2 separate regions of the Homo sapiens genome follow, and region 1 is linked to region 2. Evidence: promoter capture Hi-C in 16 types of primary human blood cells and fetal thymus (Javierre and others, 2016). All regions are on one chromosome and are shown on one strand. The core of a region is centred on a gene start or on the middle of the fragment in contact, and the rest is flanking DNA. Distances in the headings are between cores, read along the strand shown. Region 1 overlaps LHFPL5 (LHFPL tetraspan subfamily member 5). Region 2 holds the start of TEAD3 (TEA domain transcription factor 3).

Evidence for each region. Contacts are between HindIII fragments. The CHiCAGO score rates a contact against its expected background, and 5 or more counts as called.
Region 1: a contact is called between a fragment that was not itself captured here and the fragment with the promoter of TEAD3 in region 2, in 1 of 17 cell types (M1 macrophages). The highest score is 5.4, in M1 macrophages.

What each region holds. Positions count from the first base shown.
Region 1 is chr6:35,808,168-35,813,836 of GRCh38, forward strand. The region is part of intron 1 of LHFPL5 (LHFPL tetraspan subfamily member 5); the gene reads left to right. Among named protein-coding and RNA genes, the nearest start is that of LHFPL5, 5.6 kb to the left of the region's middle. The HindIII fragment of the contact is 603 bases long and covers 3,992-4,594 here.
Region 2 is chr6:35,492,596-35,498,328 of GRCh38, forward strand. TEAD3 (TEA domain transcription factor 3) reads right to left here and starts at 4,484. Exons shown (of 13, transcript NM_003214.4): 1 at 4,303-4,484. It overlaps TULP1 (TUB like protein 1), which reads right to left. Exons shown (of 15, transcript NM_003322.6): 15 at 5,279-5,733. The coding sequence ends at 5,732. LOC124901309 (a long non-coding RNA gene) reads left to right here and starts at 5,538. Exons shown (of 2, transcript XR_007059561.1): 1 at 5,538-5,612. RefSeq lists enhancers at 1-231, 1-302, 2,728-3,513, 4,460-5,390, 5,391-5,733 and silencers at 4,292-4,341, 4,522-4,651, 4,662-4,991. The HindIII fragment of the contact is 26,537 bases long and covers 1-5,733 here.

The DNA.
Region 1 (5,669 bases), core at 3,043-5,542, 320 kb after region 2:
GGGGCAGGCACAGCGGCTCATGCCTGTAGTCCTAGCACTTTGGGAGGCCAAGGAGAGGGGATTGCTTGAGGCCAGAAGTTCAAGACTTCAAGACCAGCCTGGACAACATAGTGAGACCCTATCTCTATTTTATATATATATATATATAAATTAAAAATAATCATAATAAATAATATATATAAATAAAAATAATAATAAGGCCAGCTGCAGTGGCTCAGGCCTGTAATCCCAGCACTTTGGGAGGGCGAGGTGGGCAGATTGCTTGAGCTCAGGAGTTCGAGACCAGCCTGAGCAACATGGCGAAACTGTGTCTCTACAAAAAATACAAAAATTAGCTGGGTTAATAAAAATATTGAGTATATATATATATATTCTTTACTATATATTCATTTTATACATATATATATATATATATATATATATATATATATATATATATGAACAAAGGGAAAATGAAGATTTAGTAGTTTTATGCCAAAGAGGAGTGAAATAGACCCTAATATGCTTGCCAGCTCTTCTTCCCTATCAGGGTTATGGGATGCTGGAGACACAACCATCTCTCTCATTCTCAGGGCTGTCTGCAAACCCCCCTTCCCTGAAACATCCCCCAACAGGTGCCATGTGTGAGCAGGCAGTGCCAGGAGGGGGAGGGGTTGACAGGCCATCTGAGTCAGACACTATCTGGGTAGAAAAGCTGGAGACACTGATAGCAGAGGTGGCCAGGTGCCATCTCATGCAACATTTATGTTAGGGAAGGCAAGACTGGTGTCATGTTCCATTCTGCTGTGCTGCGGAAGGGGAAATGAGCCGAAGGGAGAGATGCAGAGTGGGCGGGTCCCATATCCAGCAGCTGGGAGATACATCTATTCATTAGTACCCTTGCCAAGAAGCCTGGGAACAGGGAGGGGGCAGGGGCAAGGAGGACTGATGCTTGGGCGATGTGGGGCTGCAGCTTAACAAGATTAATTGGGCTTCTGGGTGCCAGGTGTAGGCTGGGAGTTGTCCCAGCTCCTAGAAACACAGGTAGACCAAACTGCTTGTCTTCTCTGAGTCTTGGTAACCTCATGTCTTAGTCAGTTTTACTTAGTTCTATTTAGTCAGGGCTGCCATAACAAATTACCATAGATTAGGGGGCTTAAAACAACAGAAATTCATTTCTCACAGTTCTGGAGCCTGGAGGTCTGAGATCTGGGTGCCGGCATGGCATTAGCACGAGATCTCTGATGAAGGCCTCTTCTAGGCTCTAGACTGCTGACTTCTTGATGTCCTCACATGGTGAAAAGAGGATGACAGGGCTCTCTGAGGTCCCTTTTATGTATTTATTTGCATTGATGATTATTATTATTGAGTCAAGGTCTCAAAAATGATTATTTTTACCCAGGCTGGAGTACAATGGCATGAACACACCTCATTGCAGCCTTGACCTCCCAGGCTCAAGTGATCCTCCCTCCTCAGCCTCCCGAGTAGCTGGGACTACAGGTGCATGCCAGCACACCCAGCCAATTTTTGTATTTTTTGTAGAGATGGGGTTTCACCATGTTGCTCAGGCTGGTCTGGAACTCCTGAGCTCAGGCGATCTGCCTGCCTCAGCCTCCCAAAGTGCTGGGATTACAGGCGTGAGCCACCGCACCCGGCCTTATTATTGTTTTTAATTGACATAATAATTGTACATATTTATGGGCTACAGTGTGATATTTCGATACATGTATACAAGCTGGGCTTGAAATCCAGGCAGCCTGATCTAATGTTTCCTAGCTTTTCCTACTGAGAAAATGAAGGTAATTAGCATATCCATCACCTCAAACACTTAAAACATTTCTTTGAGTTGGGACGATTTCAAATTTGCTGTTCCAGCTATTTGAAAATATACGATAGATTGCTGTTGGTTATACTCACTCTACAGTGCTAAAGAACACTAGAGCTTACTCCTCCTGTCTAGCTATACTTTTGTATCCATTAACCAACCTTTAGCTGCCCCCGCTCCCCTCTGGGGTCCCTTTTATAAGGGTTCCAATCCCATTCGTGGAGGGCCCTACCCTCATGACCTAATCACCTCCCAAAGGCCCCACCTCCTAACACCATCACACTGGAGGTTAGGATTTCAACACAGGAAATCTGGGAGGAACAAACATTCCACTGTACCCCATCTGTAGAACATAGCAGCAGTACCCACTTCAGGGGGGTTCTGTGAAGATGGGATAATAGAATGCATGTAAAACACCTTGCACATGGTAAGTGCTCAGTACCTGTGAAAAACACAAAAAACAGGCTGGGCATGGTGGCTCAAGCCTGTAATCCCAGCATTTTGGGAGGCCGAGGTGGGTGGATCATGATGTCAGGAGATCGAGACCATCCTGGCTAACACAGTGACACCCCGTGTTACAAAAAAATACAAAAAAATTAGACAGGTGACATAATCCAGGATGCAACTGGGAAAGTCCCAGGCACAGCTGCCCTGTGGGCAGGGGATAATCCCCCCAAAAAATACAAAAAAATACAAAAATAAAAAATTAGCTGGGCTTGGTGGCGGGCGCCTGTAGTCCCAGCTACTTGGGAGGCTGAGGCAGGAGAATGGCGTGAACCCAGGAGGCAGAGCTTGCAGTGAGCCAAGATCGCGCCACTGCACTCCAGCCTGGGCGACAGAGTGAGACTCCGTCTCAAAAAAAAAAAAAAAAAAGAAAGAAAAGAAAAACACAAGAAACAACTATATCAGTGAGCATGAGAAGTGATGCCGTAGTAACAAACCACTCCCAAATCTTGGTGGCTTAGAACAACGGTTTATGTATTTCTTGCTTATGGTCCGTGCCAACCGGGGATCGGTGGGGGCTCCGCTCTCACTGTTGTCTCCTGGGACCCTCGCTAGTGGCATCAGTCACCATCAGCTGTCCTCGCATCAGAGGGAAGGGAACTCTGGGAGGTCTCCCACTGCAGCTAAGTGCTGTGGCCCGGAAATACACACATCTCTGCTCACATGTCATTGGCCAGAGGAAGGCAGATGGCCTCACTTAACCTCAAGAGAGCGGAGCAAGGAAGTACAACCTTGCCTTGCACCTGGAATATTCGTGAGCAGCTCTAATGGCATCCATGTCACTGAGGTGGCTTCTGTCTGACTCCAATGTCAATAATAATAGCAGTGACTAACATTAATTGGCCACTTTCCATGTACAAGACATCATAGTAAGCGTTTTCTGTAAATGATCACACTTAATCCTCACAGTGCTGCTATGAGTCAGATACTTTACAGACAACAGGACGGAAGTCAGAGAGGGTAAGTAACCTGGCCTGAGAACACTGTGCTGGCTTCTGCTTAGAGCCTTGAGATGCCACAACTGGGGCTGACACCCACTGTCCCCAGAACCGTGGGTGGATGGGTAGAGTGCTCGCAGGGGACTGTGGCACCAACACCCTGTTTCCAGGTCAGAGGCCCTGGGCTTTTTTCCGGAGCCCCCACAGGAAGATGGTGCAGGAGGGGAGGGGCCACGGGAGGAAGTGATGGAGAGAATGCAAAGCCTGGAAGGGCAGCTCCTTCCCACCTTCACCTCTGCCCATGAAGCCAGGGGCCCTGCCAGGCACTGGAGGGCTGGACTCACATCAAGTCGGGGAAGGGCTGGCTACGTAGGTTTCACCACGGAGCTGTGGATGGCTCCCTCTCCTCCACCGTGGGTATCTTCCTGAACACTTAGTTTTCACTGAACACGTAGGAAGTCTGAAATGTCACCGCTAATTACATTCAGCCCCTGGGAGAGATGTCATGTTCTGGGGGTGGAGGGAATAAACTTTGAAGTCAGGAAAGTCAGGAATGGAGAACTCAGGCCTTGGCCCTGTCATAGCTGGATGACTGGATGGCTGGTAAGTCACTTGGTTTCTTTGAGCCCTCAGTTTTCTAATCTGTAAAATGAGGATATTAATAGCCAGCCCACTTCACAGAAAGGTGATCACAGTCAAGATGGTACATGAAGTATTTTGTGATCTATAAAGAACTATCTAAATAAGCTTCTCCTAAAAAAGATCAAAGGAAGCGTGATACATTTAGGTGGGGAGGTGGGACCCTGATTTTTCCATTTACTGTGCATTTGTTTGACCTCCTGACCTTCTTTGTAGAACAAGCTGGAAGCAGGGAAGGTAACTTTAGGCCTGAAGAGGTGCTTTTCTGAGGGTCTCCTGAGTAGGGTACAACCTTGGGACTAGAGAGCCTCCAGACCTGTGGGAAAGTGGCACAGATAAGGGGAGCACCCCCTGCCCGTGGGGCAGCTGTGCCTGGGGCTGGCTGCCCCAGTTGCATCCTGGATTATGTCACCTGTCTCTGCTTCACCCCAGCAAAGCTAAGGTGAGGGGATGGTTTGATGGAAAGGGATGGAAGAAGTGGGGGGAAAGTGGGGGCAACAGAATTTTTAGCTGTAAATAATAAGTCAAGTAAGGCACAGGGTGTGATAATAACTCTCACAGTCAACTCTTATGGAGTGCCAAGTCTGTGCCAGGCACTGTTCTACACTCTTTTCCAGTATTAACTCATTTGAACCTTGCTGTAACCACAACAGGAAGGTTAGGGTTATTATTATGTCCATTTTGTAGATGAGGAAACTGAGGCAAACAAAGCTTAAGTATGGCTGGGCACGGTGGCTCACGCCTGTAATCCCAGCACTTTGGGAGGCCAAGGCCGGCGGATCACTTGAACCCAGGAGTTCAAGACCAACCTGGCCAACGTGGCAAAACCCCGTCTCTATGAAAAATACAAAAATTAGCCGGGCATGGTGGTACATGCCTGTAATCCCAGCTACTCAGGAGGGTGAGGCAGGAGAATCACTTGAATCCGGGAGGCGGGTGTTGCAGTGAGCCGAGATCGTGCCACTGCACTCCAGCCTGGGCGACAGAGCAAGACTCTGTCTCAAAAAAAAAGAAAAGAAAGCTTAAGTTGCTTGCTCTGAGTCACATAGCTAGGTAGCAGAGAACTGGGTTTGAAATCCAGGCAGCCTAGTCTAGTGTTTCCCAGCTTTTCCTACTGAGAAAATCACCTGGAAGAGTGCTTTTGAAAACAGGGATTATTGAACCCAACCATGACCTAGGAACTAGCATTTTTTTTTTTTTTTTTTTTTTTTGAGATGGAGTCTTGGTCTGTTGCCCAGGCTGGAGTGCAGGGGCGCCATCTCGGCTCACTGTAGCTCCGCCTCCCAGGTTCACACCATTCTCCTGCCTCAGCCTCCCGAGTAGCTGGGACTACAGGCGCCCACCATCATGCCCGGCTAATTTTTGTATTTTTAGGAGAGACGGGGTTTCACCGTGTTAGCCAGGATGGTCTCGATCTCCTGACTTTGTAATCCGTCCACCTCGACCTCCCAAAGTCCTGGGATTACAGGCGTGAGCCACCGCACCCGGCCTCCAGGGGATTCTTAAATTTAGGGACGTGTAGCAACTGGACTATGCTGTACTGGGTAAGAGTGAGGAGGAAACCTGTTTGCTTGAATGGAAGGCTTTTGAAGGAAGCAGCCAGGGACAGTCTGGAAAGCCTTCCTGTATACATTAAATCTAAGATACCTGAGTTGTAGGACACACTGTTATTCTATGTACCATAAAAACAAAATATACTGATAATCTGGCCATGGCCTGACACTTTCTTTTTCCTTTTCCTTTTTTTTTTTTTTTTTTTTTGAGACGGAGTTTCGCTCTTGTTG
Region 2 (5,733 bases), core at 3,234-5,733:
CACTCTCTCCCCACCCCCCGCCCTGCTTATTAATGTGCTTCCAATTTGGGACTGGAGATTCTCTGCCCCTCCTCCCCACACTACTTGGGAAAGGGGCTTTCTCAGGGAGCAGAGGGGGTTGGGATAGTCCCCCCAGGCCTCCTTCTGCAAAGCTCATCTCATCTGTTGTCACGCTCCTGCTCCCTGAAGCAGTATAGCGGGTAGGAGGGTGGAGACTCAGCCCTCAAGTCCCCTGTAGAGAGAAGGGCCCAGTTTCCAGACCTCCCTTCACCCCCTCCCTGGGACTGACTTATCTCCTCATCTTGTCCTGGTCCCAGGGTGGGAATCTCAGGTATCCAGTGAGAGACAGACTATAGGGGGTCACTGGGTTTCTCAGTTCTCAGTTACCATGCCAGACTCCTGGTACTCTGGGTCGCCCACTGGGCTCCCACCAGCCACTCAGTCAGTGCCCTCATGAGAGTCACGGTGTCATCTAAGAACAAATAGGTTTCCTCTGCGCCCTTCCTCTCGCTCGCATACACAGTTGCGTCACAGCCACTGTCCTGCTCATTCACTGTTACCCGCATCTCTCTCCTGCTGGGTTTTTAAAAATGTCTTTATTGTGATAAAATATACATAACATCAAGTTTACCATTTTAGCCATTTCTAAGTGTACAATTGAGAGGCATTAATTACATTCCTTCTTTGTTTTTATCAGTGTCTTTCTCATTGTCTTCCACATAGATGCCACACGTCAGGGACCACAGGCCCCCAAAAGCATCCCACAGAGCCTCCTACACGCCCTGCCTGGCACAGCCCTGGGGGTGTCACCCACACTACCCGAGAGTCCCAAACACGCTCAGATAGTGACCACCCACCCACAGCGCCAGCATCAGTCACGCCCCACGGTTTCTCTCACATACGGTGTCGCTTTCTGGTGCTCAGTGTCACCCACACACCGCATACCATATTCATGCTTGGCACATGTCGGATGGGGCCCACCTTGCTGGTACACACATCATACTGACACAGAGCTGGTCATGTTGTTTTACTCGCATGTAGTGTCACATGTAAGTCACACACAGACAAACCTGAGGCCATCTCACATGCTGCGTCACAACATGCAGGTCACAAGTGGTCACACCACAGCGTAACACATCACACAGATCGCCACTCATCCGGCTTCTCACGCACACGCGCCCGCGCGCTCACATACACACAGCATCGTGCGAGTGCGGTGTCCTTCACACGCAGGTCACTTGAGCATCAGAGCCACACCCAGTGTCATCTCCAGGTACACACAGATGGCTAGGCAGCCAGCTTCCTTCATCGGCACATCCTGGGTGATGCCCTGGCACACACAGAACATCCCCCATGCAGGTTCTCAGGTACAGAGGTGGCGGCACACCTGGACACATGAAGAGTCACCCAGTTTCTCTTATGGACGTGTATATCTGTCACACACACGAATGTCACAAAGCCACAGTTTCTCTCCTGCATACACCCAGCCCTGCACAAGTTGCTCTGACCAAGGTTCTCTTCCACACACATCCAGCCCCACAGAAGACAAGTCTCACCCACATAGAATGTCCCACTCATGGCTTCTCTCACACACATCCAGCGTCACACACAGTTGCATTCTCATTTCCCTCTAACACTTCCTGCCCTTTCAGGCCTGGCAGGGAGCACAGGAAACAATCGGCACTCTAGGAAACCCCAAGGGCTGAGGCTTTAGGGATGTGCAGGGGGATGAACCTCTCTGGCCCTAACCTCAACCTCCTGTGGGTCGGGGAAGACAGGCAGAGCCCTTTCCCTGGCAGGGTTCTCCCTGGAGGGAAGTGGCCCCTTCTGCAGACAGCCCAGGGCTGGCACAACACCAGGAGGGGAGGGGAGGGAAGGCAGGGCAAGGCCCCAGGGACAGTGCCGAGTGTGACCTGCTGACCTCCCCAGCTCTACCCAGAGGCAGATCCTCAGGGCCACCCCTGGGACCCCACAGCTTCTGCAGCCCCCATGTGGGAAGAAGAGGCTGCGACCTCCTAGCCCCTTCACAGAAAGCTGCAGCGTTTAGACCCCTGGGCTCCTCTCCCCATCCTGGGCGGGGAGGAGGAGGAGGGCAGGACCAGCGATTTCCACACTGAGCCCTGGGACCCCCACAGGTGTCTGGGAGTGGGGCAGAGGGTAGAGCCACCCAAGCGGCCTCTGAGCACCCTTTGTGCCATTCAGCCCTAACAGAACCCATGACCACTTCAGAGGCAAGATCCCCCAATCCACCAAGCCCCCCTGTCCCTTGACACCTGCCCCCCGCCACCTTTTCAGCCCTGTTCATCTGGCTGAGCTACTCCTCAGTCACCCCTTGGTTTGTCCTTGCCTTCTTCTTTGGGCCACTGGATCACCCACCCGCCTCTCCAGACCCCACCAAGTTCAGGTTCCATCATGGGAGAAGGAAGGCAAACTGGGAGACAGACTCTGGGAGGAGCTCAGAGAAAAGGGACTTGAGAAGTCATTCATTCCAAGCAGGGAAACTGAGGCCCAAAGGGGCCTGCCAAGATGGCGCAACTGGTTAAAGGTCCGGAGGGGACCAGATCCCTATTTCTTGACCACCTCTGTTGAGATATCTTCTCCTTTGATATTGTTGAGAATATCAAATCCTCCCGGTTTTAACATTCCTTCAGTTGGCAGAAAGTGCCAGGGTCTACAAACCTTTGGGTGAGGATGGGAGCAGGGCTCAGGACCCATGTGATGCTTCTGTACACTTAATGTGCTGCTCTGTCCTGGCAACCACTGACCACTCTAACAAGCCATTCCCCAGCCCAGATGCGCTCATTAGCATTAATGACGTTCCCTCCCTGGGGGGGTAGGGGAAGGCCCAAGAGCTTGGGACTCATACTGGCTCCTACCCTCTCCCTGAGGAGGGGGCATCCAGGGCCCCTGAAGTTACCCTTACTGGACAGCCTTGTCCTGGAAGATCTGTGCACTCTGCCCACTGGGTGAGCAGGGACCCAGAAGACCACAGAACCACATCCTTTAGGGAGTGCCCCTACGAGAGGGGTCTTGGTGGGAGGGGGGCTACAGGAGTCTAGAAGGGAGAGGACATAATTCCCCCAAATCTCCAACTTTTGAGGAAAGCCTCCCCTCCTTGCCCCAGGTGGCCCCAGCACTGGGGTGGAACATGTGTACAGAGAACCAGGCCACAAGAGACTGGATACGCAGAGCCGCTATGGGCACCAGCCCCTCTGAGCTGTGTCCAGCCCCTACCCCTATGCCCTGTTCTTCCGGACAACAAGTCCAGGCCTGACCTGGTTCTGCCCCTACCTGGAAAGAGGGAAGACACAGAAGAAGACAGCCCCTGAGAAGTCCGCCCCAAGGCCTCCTTCCCCCTCGCACTGAAAGAATCTCTCAGCCCTGGATCAGGGCCCCTCACCAGGAAAGTTGACAGAGCGGGGTCTCAATGACACTGCCCCAGGGCCCAGCTGGGCTGGAAAACAGATCCAGACCAGCGCTCCCAGCCCTCCCTCCCCTAGCAGGAATAAAGGGCATGACAGACAATGGTGGGGACCGGGGTAGGAAGCGGGAGACCAGCCACCCTCAAACCTTGTCAAGTCTAAACAAGGGCCCTGAGCAAGTGTGGGGAAGAAAAGGCCCCAAATCCAGACCCCTCCGAGCCAAGCTCACAGCGCTCAGGGCTGGAACTCTGAATCAGCACCCCGACGCAGGCGGCAGAACTGAAGGGAACGTGAGCCCCTCCCTGCCTCTCAGGGGACACACGGCCGGGGCGCGCGGCTTTGGTCCCAGACACCCTCCACAACCCAGCGCAGCCGCGGCACCGCGCGCAGAAACCGGCCTGGGCGCTGGGAGGCCGGGCCCGAGGCCTGCGTGGAGCTGAGGCCGGGCGGGCTCCGGGAGCGCGCGGGCCGGGAGTCCAAAGGGCGGCGGGGCCCGGGACTGGGCGCCCCGGATATGAGCTCCAGGGTGGCAGGCAGGCCCTCCACACTGTGCGGCCCCCGGATCCCCGCCCCGACCCCCCAAGCACGGACGGCGGGACAGGCGACGGCACAGGGGACACGGTCTCCCCGGCTTCCCCACCTTCCCGGACCAACTCGTCCCCGTCGCGGGGGGGTGGGGAGGGCGGGGGGCGGGGCTTCCCGGAGAGATTTTCCCCCTTCCCTCTAAACTTCCCGGCACCCCGATCCGGGGCTCCAGCTCCGGCTGGACAATAGCTCGGGGACCCAGTCCCCCTCGAGTGTCGCCCCCCCAGCCAGCCCAGCCGACCAACCAAACCACCTCTCCCGAGCGGGGCCTCCTCCCGGCGTCCGCCCGGCTTACCTGGTCCGAGCTCGCGGGGGCGCTCCGGCCGGGCCGCTCCGCCGGGCCCGAGGGAGCCGCAAGGGGGGCCGGGGAAGGGGGGTCGTGGGGAGGGGGCTGGCCGGAATGTGCGGAATGAGCCGGGCTGGAGCGGGAGGCGCCGAGCGCGGAGGAGGGAGCGAGCGGGACGGAAAGTTTGTGTTGAGGAGCCGGGGCGGGGGTGGGGGCTGCGGGAAGGAGGGGGCGGGGCGCGCAGGGGGCGGTGCTGGCCGGGAGGGGCGGGGCCGTCCAGCCGCGCTCGGGCCGCCTACCCCGCGGCCTCGCGACCCGGCCACCCCGGCTGGCGCGCGCCTGGGCGCCCCGCTCCTCGCCCGCCCGTGCGGAGCTGCCTTCCTCCCCCTGCGCTCCGGGCCTCGCCCCGCTCCCGGGCACCCGCCGGAATTTGGGGCTCCGGCCTGGGGCGGGGCCGAGGGCGGAGCCCTCGCCTCGCGGGCAGGGCTCCCGTCGGTGCCGGGGGCCGTGGGTGCCGCGTCACGAGGAGCCCGGCAGAGCCGGAGCGCACGGGCCCCGGGGCTCCCGGCCCCTCCACCCTAGTCCCGAGCCGCCAAGGCGGAGCGTACCCTCCAGCTCGCGGGCCTGCCCCCCACTCCCGGGGCCCCAGACCCGGCTCCGCCCTGGCGGCTGCGCCCGCCCTGCCGGGACCCGGTTTGTCTGGTTCTCCCCGCGTGGCTAGTTTCTCGAATTTCTTCTCCCTTTCTCCCTCTTCCCCGACCTCCGGGACCCTCCCTTTCGCCCCGGCTCCCCGGGCCCCCACGGGGGGCGTCTCGACGCTGTGCGGCCGCCGAGTTTCGGTAGGACCCGCGACGGGCGCGGGGAGGGGACGCGGGAGCGCCCGGGGCCTGGGCAGGAGTGGGACGGGGGTTGAGACTTCCAGCTCGCGCCTCGGACGCCTCCTGCCGCCTCGTTCTCCGCACGCGCTGAGGAACCACCGCTCCGCTTGGCCAAGGACGCGGCTTTATTGGGGATGTGGGTGCCTGGCCCTCGTCCCCCATCACCTACCCCCTCCTCCTAGCCCGCCCCAGCTCCTCGGAGCCCTAGCGCGGTCCCGGGGAGAGGGGAGGTTAAAACAACAATGACTACTGCTCCCGGACAGGAAGTGACTGGGGCGCGGGGAGGAGGGGGGCACAGCGGCGCAGGCGAGCTCCGAGACCAGATGTGCGGCTCCAACTCCAGATGTTCTTCATCTCCGTCCTACCCGCCGTCCGGGCTCCTCCTGCCTCGGCCTGTGCCAGGCTGGGGAGAGGACGGAGGTCACCGAGAGGCAGTGAGAGGTCAGCCCCGACACAGGAGCAGTTTTCCGCGGGAGCTTTGCTGGAGGGACCCTGCCAGCCTCCACTGAATCCTTTCCCCCACGCTGACGGGCTCTGGGGGCGCTGAGGGGCTGCTGGGGTC